Regions from separate parts of the Homo sapiens genome. Here all the other regions are linked to region 2. Evidence: promoter capture Hi-C in 16 types of primary human blood cells and fetal thymus (Javierre and others, 2016). All regions are on one chromosome and are shown on one strand. Each heading gives the region's core, a stretch centred on a gene start or on the middle of the fragment in contact. The rest is flanking DNA. Distances are from core to core; before and after follow the strand shown.

What was found. The method cuts DNA at HindIII sites, captures the fragments that hold promoters and counts their contacts. A CHiCAGO score of 5 or more calls a contact.
Region 1: a contact is called between a fragment that was not itself captured here and the fragment with the promoter of COX5A in region 2, in 2 of 17 cell types (non-activated CD4 T cells and naive CD8 T cells). The highest score is 5.9, in non-activated CD4 T cells.
Region 3: a contact is called between the fragment with the promoter of CYP1A2 here and the fragment with the promoter of COX5A in region 2, in 4 of 17 cell types (naive B cells, non-activated CD4 T cells, total B cells and 1 more). The highest score is 6.5, in naive B cells.

The regions. Positions count from the first base shown.
Region 1 is chr15:74,765,030-74,768,664 of GRCh38, forward strand. No RefSeq gene overlaps it. Among named protein-coding and RNA genes, the nearest start is that of CSK, 15 kb to the right of the region's middle. RefSeq lists an enhancer at 2,305-3,082. The HindIII fragment of the contact is 2,992 bases long and covers 806-3,635 here.
Region 2 is chr15:74,936,537-74,940,420 of GRCh38, forward strand. COX5A (cytochrome c oxidase subunit 5A) reads right to left here and starts at 1,537. Exons shown (of 5, transcript NM_004255.4): 1 at 1,379-1,537. The coding sequence starts at 1,478. RefSeq lists a silencer at 1,231-1,790. The HindIII fragment of the contact is 6,406 bases long and covers 1-3,884 here.
Region 3 is chr15:74,746,567-74,750,185 of GRCh38, forward strand. It overlaps CYP1A2 (cytochrome P450 family 1 subfamily A member 2), which reads left to right and starts at 2,279. Exons shown (of 7, transcript NM_000761.5): 1 at 2,279-2,331; 2 at 3,164-3,619. The coding sequence starts at 3,173. RefSeq lists a cis regulatory region at 1-948, promoters at 1-2,369, 1-303, 2,035-3,172 and an enhancer at 1-181. The HindIII fragment of the contact is 9,803 bases long and covers 1-3,619 here.

The DNA.
Region 1 (3,635 bases), core at 1,052-3,551, 170 kb before region 2:
GAGGCCAAGGCGGGCGGATCACGAGGTCAGGAGTTCGAGACCAGCCTGGCCAATATGGTGAAACCCCCGTCTCTACTAAACATACAAAAGTTAGCCGGGCGTGGTGGCACGTGCCTGTAATCCCAACTACTCAGGGGGTTGAGGCAGGAGAATTGCTTGAACCAGGGAGGCGGAGGTTGCAGTGAGCTGAGATCGCGCCACTGCACTCCAGGCTGGGTGACAGAGCAAGACTCCATGTCAAAAAACAAAAAGCAAAAAAAAAAAAAAAAACAACAATCCAGTAAAAAATAGATGAAAAACATGAACTGTTAACAGACACAAATATATTTTAAAATATAAAGAGATGCTTGGCTGCACCTACAATCGGCAAACTACAATTTTTTTTGAGACGAAGTCTCATTCTGTCGCCCAGGCTGGAGAGCAGTGGCACAATCTCGGCCCACTGTAGCCTCCACCTGCCAGGTTCAAGCGATCCTCCCACCTCAGCCTCCCAAGTAGCTGGGATTACAAGTATGCATCACCATGCCTGGCTAATATTTGTATTTTTAGTAGAGACAGGGTTTCATCATGTTGGCCAGGCTGGTCTCCAACTCCTGACCTCAAGTGATCCACCCATCTTGGCCTCCCAAAGTGCTGGGATTACAGGTGTGAGCCACCATGCCTGGCATCAGTGAACTATAACTTAAAACTACAAATATAATTTTTTACCAATTACATTGGGAAAGATGTATGGTGTTAGCAAGGGTGCTGAAAAGTTGGCATTCATATTTATCATTGGTGGAAGTGAATTTTAGTTGAAAAGTAAAGCTTTAAACATTATGCTAAGTGAAATAAGCCAGTTACAAAAACACAAATACCGTATGGTTCCACTTTTGTGAAATACCTAGAATAGTCAAAACCCTACAGATAGACAGAACAGTGGTTGCCTGGGGCTGGGGAGAAGGGGGAATGGGGAGTTAGTGTTTAATGGGTAGGGTTTCAGGTTTACAAGATGGAAAGGGCTCTGGAGATGGACAGTGGTGATGGCTGCACAACATTATGAGTGCATTTAATACCACTAAACTGTGTACTTAAAAATGGTTAAGATGGAGGCTGGGCACGTTGGCTCACTTCTGTAATTCCAGCACTTTGGGAGTCTGAGGTGGGTGGATCACTTCAGGTCAGGAGTTCAGGACCAGCCTGGCCAACATGGTGAAAACCCCATCTCTACTAAAAATATAAAAATTAGCCGGGCATGGTGGCGGGTGCCTGTAACCCCAGCTACTCGGGAGGCTGAGGTGGGAGGATTGCTTGAGCCTGGGAGGTAGAGGTTGCAGTGAGTTGAGATGGCTCCACTGCACTCCAGCCTGGGCAACAGAACGAGAGCCCATTAAAAAAAAAAAAAAAAGGTTGGCTGGGCACAGTGGCTCACACCTGTAATCTCAGCACTTTGGGGGGCTGAGGCAGGAGGATCATCTGAGGTCAAGAGTTCAAGACCAGCCTGGCCAACATGGTGAAACTCTGTCTCTATTAAAACTACAAAAATTAGCTGGGCATTGGGAGGCAGAGGTTGCAGTAAGCCCAGATCATGCCACTGCGCTCCAGCCTGGGCAACAGAGCGAGACTCCATCTCAAAAAAAAAAAAAATAGCCAGGTATGCCGGGCGCGGTGGCTCACGCCTGTAATCCCAGCACTTTGGGAGGCTGAGGCGGGTGGATCACCTGAGGTCAGGAGTTCGAGACCAGCCTCAACATGGAGAAACCCCGTCTCTACTAAAAGCACAAAATTAGCCAGACATAGTGGTGAATGCCTGTAATCTCAGCTACTCGGGAGGCTGAGGCAGGAGAATTGTTTGAACCCAGGAGGCGGAGGCTGCAGTGAGCCAAGATTGTGCCATTGCACTCCAGCCCAGGCGAAGGAGCGAGACTCCATCTGAAAAAAGAAAAGAAAAGAAAAGAGGAGGGTGGGCGCGGTGGGTCACGCCTGTAATCCCAGCACTTTGGGAGGCTGAGGCGGGCGGATCACAAGGTCAGGAGTTCGAGACCAGCCTGGCCAATATGGTGAAACTCTGTCTCTACTAAAAATACAAAAATTATCCGGGAGTGGTGGCGGATGCCTGTAGTCCCAGCTACTCGGGAAGCTGAGACAGGAGAATCGCTTGAACCCGGGAGGCGGAGGTTATAGTGAGCCAAGATCGAGATCGGACCACTGCACTCCAGCCTGGGAGATAGAGCGATACTTTGCTTCAAAAAATAAAAAATCAAAAAAAAAAAAAAGAGGAAAAAGAGTTCTAGGCAGAGGGACCAACCTGTGCAAAGGTCCTGAGGCAGGAAAGGGGTTACTGTGTGCTTGAAGGCAAATTATCACCCCTCTTAGGAAAGGCATAGCCTCACCTGTGAAATAACCCAAATTTAGAGATGGAGAGACAGAGGTTCAGAGAGGGAAGATGGCTTCTTCAGGAAAGCAGAAGAGCCAGAACTGAAACCTAGATCTTTTTGGCTCTATGAACTCAGAGGTATTTCAGGTATGCATTTGGGGACCTTTTGCAAGATTGTAAAGACCAGGACGGGAAGGAAAGGGCCACCCTCCGGGGGCTTTTCTTTTCCTGGGAAGAAGGTCTTCTTTCCAGGAAGGTGGTGTACGGGCAAGGCTGAAAACCCAGCCTTCATTCTGCCAGGCCAGTCCCCTCCTAGTCCCTGCTGCCCCAGGGCTGCAGAATCCTATCCTGGCTCCTGCCAGGCTCCCCTGCAGCTGGGCAAACAGGCAGTGGGTGGGACTCGGTATAATTTCCTCCTTGCCCGCCTGGGGTCTGCTAGGCTCTGGCTGAGCTCTCTGGCCTCTGCCCTGCACCCCCAACTTGGAGCCCAAAGGGGGTCATGGGTCTTTCTGCCCTGTGTCCCCAGGGATGCACCCGATGAGTTTGAGAAGGGGCTGCCTTCTCACCCAGAGAGAGGTGAGGCCATCCCCTCACCCAGAGAGGGGCTCCAGGCCCCACTCCAAGGGAGAGTCAGAACTTCCCGGTGCCTACAGGCGCACTGTGCTAAACCAGTGTGAGCATCCTGCGCTGATAATGCTACATGCATAAGCTGCGGATGCACAGGGGCTCAGACTCAGGGGACTGTGGGGAGTCCTGGCAGCCACATATACATCGGGCTCACCCCTGTAGCACCCCATCTAGAAAAGCCCATCCAGAGCCAGAAGGGGCTTCTGGGGATGGTTCCTGGAAGGGCTGGGTTCTGCTGTTCTCTGAGTGACCAATCCACCCATTCTTTCCAGAAATGGTCCTATCCCATCTCCTTCCCCTCCAGCCGCTCTCGGTTCCCTGCCCTCATCCACCCAGGATGTCACTGGGCCTGCTGCGAGTGGCTGCCCGGGGAAAAGGCCAGGAGCTCTGCAATGAGCCTGTAATCCCAGCACTTTGGGAGGCTGAAGTGGGTAGATACGCACTACACACAAGCCAGCACCAGGTTCCTCCCACCCAGGGGATGACAGAGGAGCTCCAGCTCACCACCGTGCCTCAAGTCCCCTGCTTAACTGTCCTATGTGAGCTCAGGGCCGCCCTCTGGGGGCTTTTCTTTTATTTATTTATTTATTTATTTATTTATTTATTTATTTATACTTTAAGTTTTAGGGTACATGTGCACAATGTGCGGGGC
Region 2 (3,884 bases), core at 287-2,786:
TAAATAAACAAAAATAAAGTACCCTCCAGCCTTATGGTTCTACGACAAATGATAAAAGTCTAAAATGAATGAAGCAAAACATATTCTTTTTTTTTTTTTTTTTTTTTTGAGACGGAGTCTCGCTCTGTCGGCCAGGCTGGAGTGCAATGGCGCGATTTCGGCTCACTGCAACCTCCGCCTCTCAGGTTCAAGCGATTCTTGTGCTTCAGCCTCCCGAGTAGCTGGGATTACAGGCGCCCACCACCACACCCAGCTAAATTTTTTGTATTTTTAGTACAGACAGGGTTTCACCATGTTGGCCAGGCTGGTCTTGAACTCCTGACCTCAGGTGATCCGCCCGCCTCGGCCTACCAAAGTGCTGGGATTACAGGCATGAGCCACCGCGCCCGGCTGAGTTCTTTTTTTAATTTTTAACTTCAGCATACCCTGAAACGAGTTTCTGAGTTCTTATGTTTAAATACGCATGCATAGTTGCCAGTGATGCAGGTTCAAAAATAAAATATAATATGCATGCATAGAAGCTAAATTTCACGGACCAAGATCGAAGTGCAATTACTGTAATTATTCTATGGTGGTGGACTCAAAACCTCCCAGCACACATATAAAGGGAAGGAAAATAGACAAAAATCAGAAGCACGTCTCATACTCCAGCAATCAGGCTTCTATTACAAAGGGGAAAAAACACGAAGCGTTCCTATGCTTGTAAAACCCAGTATTCCTGTGTCTGTGACATTCAGTTTTCAAAAGAGTGATATTTTTATCATAAGCCCTATCAAAACTCTGGCTATCTTCCGGAGATCAGGAAACAACCACACACTTCCATCTATTTTAAACGTGGAAGAATTAGAACGTGGCACAGCAGACCCTAAAAATGATGGAAAAGGCTGTGAAGGTGACACACTAATCGCTAACCGAGAAATGCCTGATTGAAAAGTATAATCGTGTGTCCCATACGGAAGTATATTGTGTCCTCGGACCCCAAGCGGCGTGCCCGGAGGCTCAATGTCACCTTCGCCGAGGCGCTGCAGGCCGGCGGCGGCCACTCTCGGTCAGGTGGCCGCAGGGTCGGCGCTGGGGCAGGGTCATGGCCCGGGAACCGAAGGGGAGCGCTGCGTCCCCTCCTCGGCGCCCACAGCAGGTCCACATCTGACCTGTCCGCGGTGGCACAGCCAGGAAGTTGCGCGGGGGGAGGCCCCGGGGGCGCGCTTTCAGGTCCTCCACTACTCGAGGCGGCGGGCAGGGCGGCCCGCGGTCACCGGGTTCAGTAACCAGGGTAGGGCAAGGGCTAGGCCGGGGAGAGCCCGCCCCGGAGTGGCAGCGGGGACCCAGGTCACCGCAAGGACACGAGGGCGCGGGCAGTGGCAAGCAGGGGCCTTACCCACGGCGGGGCCGGGGGTCCGGGCGGAGTGCAGGAGGCCTCGAGGGTCGGCCCGGGTGGTTGCGGCCACAGCGCAGCGGCGGAGAGCGGCGCCCAGCATGACGGCGATGGCGGCGCGCGGGCTGAGGACAGAGAGAAGCCGGTGTAAGCTCGCGGGTTGCTCCGGAGCGGGCGGGGGCCGGACAGGCTCACAGCGGGCGGAGCACGTAGGCCCGCCCACTGCGACTCTGGCGCGTGGGCGGGAGGAGCCACCGCGCGGCCGGCGGCGGCGGGGGCTACGGCGGCGCGCTGAGGACAAACTGTTAGCCTCGCGTCCCGCCTTGTCTCTGGTCAGGTGACGTGCAGCTGCCATCCTGTAAGTAGGAATGGAGGCGAGGGAGGAGCAACCGACCGTGATCTTGTTCGAGTCAGGCCCAGGAGGGCACTTAATCACCTCAAAATAGGAATGACAGCAATAACAACAAACTATAATAAAAAATACGTACTTTGCGCCCGGGCGCTGTGGCTCATGCCTGTAATCCCAGCACTTTTGGGAGGCCGAGGCGGGCGGATCACCTGCGGTCGGGAGTTCAAGACCAGCCTGGGCAACATGGAGGAACCCCCGTCTCTACTAAAAATACAAAATTAGCCAGGCGTGGTGGCGCAACGCATGCCCGCAATCCCAGCTACTCGGGAGGCTGAGGCAGGAGAATCGCTTGAACCCAGGAGGAGGAGGTTGCGGTGAGCCGAGATGGTGCCATTGCACTCCAGCCTGGGCAACAAGAGCGAAACTCCGTCTCAAAAAAACCAAACAAAACAAAAACCTACTTTGCTTAGCCCCGCCTTCTCATTGTGGCATAAAATAAAACAGCGAATGGGGGAAAGAATGCCGCTGGACGCGGTTGCTCACGCCTGTAATCCTAGCACTTTGGGAGCCCAAGGCGGGCGGATCACCTGAGGTCGGGAGTTCGAGACCAGCCTGACCAACATGGAGAAACCCCTGTCTCTACTAAAAATGCAAAATTAGCCAGGTGTGGTGGCGCATGCCTGTAATCCCAGCTATTTGGGAGGCTGAGGCAGGAGAATTGCTGGAACCCAGGAGGCAGAGGTTGCAGTGAGTTGAGATCGCACCATTGCACTCCAGCCTGGGCAACAAGATCAAAACTCCATCTCAAAAAAAAAAAAGGCCTATGCGTAAGGGATTTTATTAGTACATATTCTTATATCACAAACCAGCTTGCATAAAAAATGAGTTAAACTACTTCATTTCACAGATTAGGAAAGAGGCTCAGAAATTAGGTTGCTGCTGGCAGTCAAGGATCTTTTCGCCACATCCCCAGTTCTGAGGACTCTCACCTGAATGTTTCCCATCTCCTACAGGAGGGCTCCTGAATCCACGATGGCTCTGAAATAGGGTTGATCAAGTTCCACAGTTGTTGCATCTTATCTCACTAGCTACATCCTAACTTTGAGCCCCTGGGCAGTCAAGGACACCTCTCCCAGGCCTGAAGTATCTGGATGCTGCCCAGAGTTAATGAGACATTGTATTCTGTCTTGCTGTCTCCCATTCTCTATCCCTGGGCACACTGAGGAAAGAAAAGGTGGCCATTCATGTGCCACTTCCTCACTTCAGGCCGACTCTCCAGGGCCTCAGCATCTGCCCTTCTCTTTTTCCTCCCTAGCAGTGTGGCTTCAGTGGGTAGGAACCTGGCGGGGAAAAGGATTTTTAAAATGTTTTCAAAGCACCTGCCCTCACCGTTTCCCACCAACCTAGTGCTGGGGCTTAGAAAACAATACCACAAAGTGAAGGCCTATGAAGCAGTTTCTCTCTGACCTTCTGCCCTCTTGTCTCTTGCCCCTTACTCTCCCTCCAGGCATGCCACAGAAACTAGAATCCCTCCTCCCCAAGAGGGGGTCTAGAAAGTAGAACCCCTTTGTCCCAAAGCCAGCCATAAAGCCTAAAAATATTGCTCTAACCTTTCTCTTTGCCTTTCTATGTAACAGCTGGCCATAAAGAAATTAAGGCCGAGCACGGTGGTTCACGCCTGTAATCCTAGCACTTTGAGCCGCCAAGGCCAGGAGATCACTTGAGGTCAGGAGTTTGAGACCAGCCTGGCCAACATGGTGAAACCCCATCTCTATTAAAATTACTAACATTAGCCAGAAATCACTTGAACCCAGGAGGTGGAGGTTGCGGTGAGGCGAGATCACACCACTGCACTCCAGCCTGGGTGACAGAGCTAGACTCCGTCTCAAAAATAAAATTTTTTAAAAAAAAGGAGAAAAGGAAACATGGCCAGGTATGGTGGCTCATGCCTGTAATCCCAGCACTTTGGGAGGCTGAGGTGGGAAGATCACCTGAGGTCGGGAGTTCGAGACCATCCTGGCCAACATGGTGAAACCCCGTCTCTACGAAAAATACAAAAATTAGCTGGGTGTGGTGGCGCACGCTACTCTGGAGCCTGAGGCAGGAGAATCACTTGGGCCCGCGAGGTGGAGGTTGCAGTGAGCCGAGATCGCACAACTG
Region 3 (3,619 bases), core at 1,029-3,528, 190 kb before region 2:
GTCATCAAAAACAAGGATATCCTGAGAAACTGTCACAGCCAAGAGGAATCCAAAGAGACGTGATGACTAAATGTCATGTGATATCCAATGGGTCCTGGAACAGGAAAAGGACATTAGGTAAAACGCAAGGAAATCTAAGTAAACCATGAACTTTAGTTAATTAGAGAGACAGACAGACAGAGAGAAAGAAAGAGTCCATTTTCTATAAAACCGAGCCTAACCTCAAACCTTGACCTTTTTCATTGAGTCATCTGAACCCAATGGAGATATAGACAGGAAACAACTTTCCTCTTCTCCCATTCATGGCCTTCAAACATGCTCTGTTTCTCTATTGGATTCCCCATCCATCTGCCTTGGCATCTTCACAGGTTGATCCCACAGTTTTCTCATTTTCAGGAATAAAAGCCCACTCCAGTCTAAATCAAAACTTCCCTCTCACATCCATGCCGGGCACAGTGGCTCACACCTGTAATCCCAGCAGTTTGGGAGGCCAAGGCAGAAGGATTGCTTGGGCCCAGAAGTTCAAGACCAACCTGGGCAACATGGCAAGACCTCCTCTCTACAAAAAAATGTTTAAAAATAAAAAAATTAGCCAGGCATGGTGCACACACCTGTGATTGTGGTCCCAGCTACTCAGGAGGCTGAGGCAAGAGGATTGTTTGAGCTCAGGAGGTCGAGGCTGCAGTGAGCCATGATTGTGGCACATGAACCCCAACCTGGGTGACAGAGCAAGACTCTGTATCTAAAAAAAAAAAAAAAAGATAGCAAACTTCCTTTTCACATCCAATTTAAGGCTTGTCCTCCTCCTCCTCTTAGATCTGACTGAGATCTGGGTCCATATTAAAGACTCCTTTAGTACAACAAACACCATATATCCTCACGTAAGTCCATGAATATCTGACATTTCTCATATCTACTTTCTCTCGATTTATTGATAGATAGGTATACATTGTTTTAATTTTATGGGTACATAGTAGGTGTATATATGTATGGGGTACATGAAATGTTTTGATACAGGCATGCAATATGAAATAAGCATTCATGGAGAATGGAGTATCCATCCCCTCAAGCAAGGATAAACCTTTGAGTTACAAACAATCCAATTACACTCTTTAAAGGTGTACATTTTTTTTTTTTTTGAGACGGAGTCTCACTCTGTCGCCCAGGCTGGAGTGGAGTGGCACGATCTTGGCTCACTGCAGCCTCCACCTCCCAAGTTCAAGCCATTCTCCTGCCTCAGCCTCCCGAGTAGCTGGGATCACAGGCACATGCCACCATGCCTGGCTAATTTTTGTATTTTTAGTAGAGACGGAGTTTCACCAGGTTGGCCAGGCTGGTCTTGAACACCTGATCTCAGGTGATCCGCCCATCTCGGCCTCTCAAAGTGCTGGGATTACAGGTGCGAGCCATCGCGCCTGGCCTAGAGGTGTACATTTTTTAACAGAACCATTCAAAAGGAGGTTGTGGGGATCATGACACTTCCATGCTACAGCATTAATCTCCTAAGAATAAGGATACACTCCCACATACCATGACACTCTGTTCACACCTAAAAAAATTTACATTTATTCCAGAATATCATCTAATCTCCAGTCCGTGCTTACATGTCCCCAATTGTCCCCAAAACATCTTTTATAGATTTTTTTAAAATTTTGTTTAAATGCCATATCCAATCGATATGGCAATCAAATGCAAATCCATATTGCATTTGGTTATGTCTCTTAGTCTTTTTGCATAAGGGGGGCCTCTCTTTAGGATGCAAAATCTTTATCATCTCTTCTTTTCCACTTGGGGACTTGGGCTGAAAATCAGGAGTGGCTGGAACACGCCCATTTACTGTTTGGTTTTGCAGGTTGTTGGAGGGTACTACAGAAGAACATCCCTCTGGAGAGGGGCCGTGAGCCTGGTTGGCCTAGACTGAGTGCCCTGGCAGAGCTCTTCCTCATGTGTGCAGTGGGAAAGAAGCCCAGATCAGTCCAAAGGCCTAACCCCCACTCCCAGACCCTACCCTACTCTTCAGAGAAATAGGCTCCCTACCCTGAACCCTAAAGACAGCTGTACCTTCATCCCCAGGGACCCAGCACCCCTTCTGGCCTATCCCCAAAGAGTCACCCTGGGTCTTAGGTAGTAGGTGGAGCTGAGGGATAATGGCCCAAGGCCAAGAGTTGATCCTTCCAACTTTGTTCAGTGATCCAGCTTTCATATCAGGTGATCAGGACAACCAGGCCAATCTGATAGGGGGCGGTGTTTATAAAAAGGCCACTCACCTAGAGCCAGAAGCTCCACACCAGCCATTACAACCCTGCCAATCTCAAGCACCTGCCTCTACAGGTACCTTTCTTGGGACCAATTTACAATCTCTGGGATCCCCAACTATAGAACCTGGAAGCTAGTGGGGACAGAAAGACGGGGAGCCTGGGCTAGGTGTAGGGGTCCTGAGTTCCGGGCTTTGCTACCCAGCTCTTGACTTCTGTTTCCCGATTTTAAATGAGCAGTTTGGACTAAGCCATTTTTAAGGAGAGCGATGGGGAGGGCTTCCCCCTTAGCACAAGGGCAGCCCTGGCCCTGGCTGAAGCCCAACCCCAACCTCCAAGACTGTGAGAGGATGGGGACTCATCCCTGGAGGAGGTGCCCCTCCTGGTATTGATAAAGAATGCCCTGGGGAGGGGGCATCACAGGCTATTTGAACCAGCCCTGGGACCTTGGCCACCTCAGTGTCACTGGGTAGGGGGAACTCCTGGTCCCTTGGGTATATGGAAGGTATCAGCAGAAAGCCAGCACTGGCAGGGACTCTTTGGTACAATACCCAGCATGCATGCTGTGCCAGGGGCTGACAAGGGTGCTGTCCTTGGCTTCCCCATTTTGGAGTGGTCACTTGCCTCTACTCCAGCCCCAGAAGTGGAAACTGAGATGATGTGTGGAGGAGAGAGCCAGCGTTCATGTTGGGAATCTTGAGGCTCCTTTCCAGCTCTCAGATTCTGTGATGCTCAAAGGGTGAGCTCTGTGGGCCCAGGACGCATGGTAGATGGAGCTTAGTCTTTCTGGTATCCAGCTGGGAGCCAAGCACAGAACACGCATCAGTGTTTATCAAATGACTGAGGAAATGAATGAATGAATGTCTCCATCTCAACCCTCAGCCTGGTCCCTCCTTTTTTCCCTGCAGTTGGTACAGATGGCATTGTCCCAGTCTGTTCCCTTCTCGGCCACAGAGCTTCTCCTGGCCTCTGCCATCTTCTGCCTGGTATTCTGGGTGCTCAAGGGTTTGAGGCCTCGGGTCCCCAAAGGCCTGAAAAGTCCACCAGAGCCATGGGGCTGGCCCTTGCTCGGGCATGTGCTGACCCTGGGGAAGAACCCGCACCTGGCACTGTCAAGGATGAGCCAGCGCTACGGGGACGTCCTGCAGATCCGCATTGGCTCCACGCCCGTGCTGGTGCTGAGCCGCCTGGACACCATCCGGCAGGCCCTGGTGCGGCAGGGCGACGATTTCAAGGGCCGGCCTGACCTCTACACCTCCACCCTCATCACTGATGGCCAGAGCTTGACCTTCAGCACAGACTCTGGACCGGTGTGGGCTGCCCGCCGGCGCCTGGCCCAGAATGCCCTCAACACCTTCTCCATC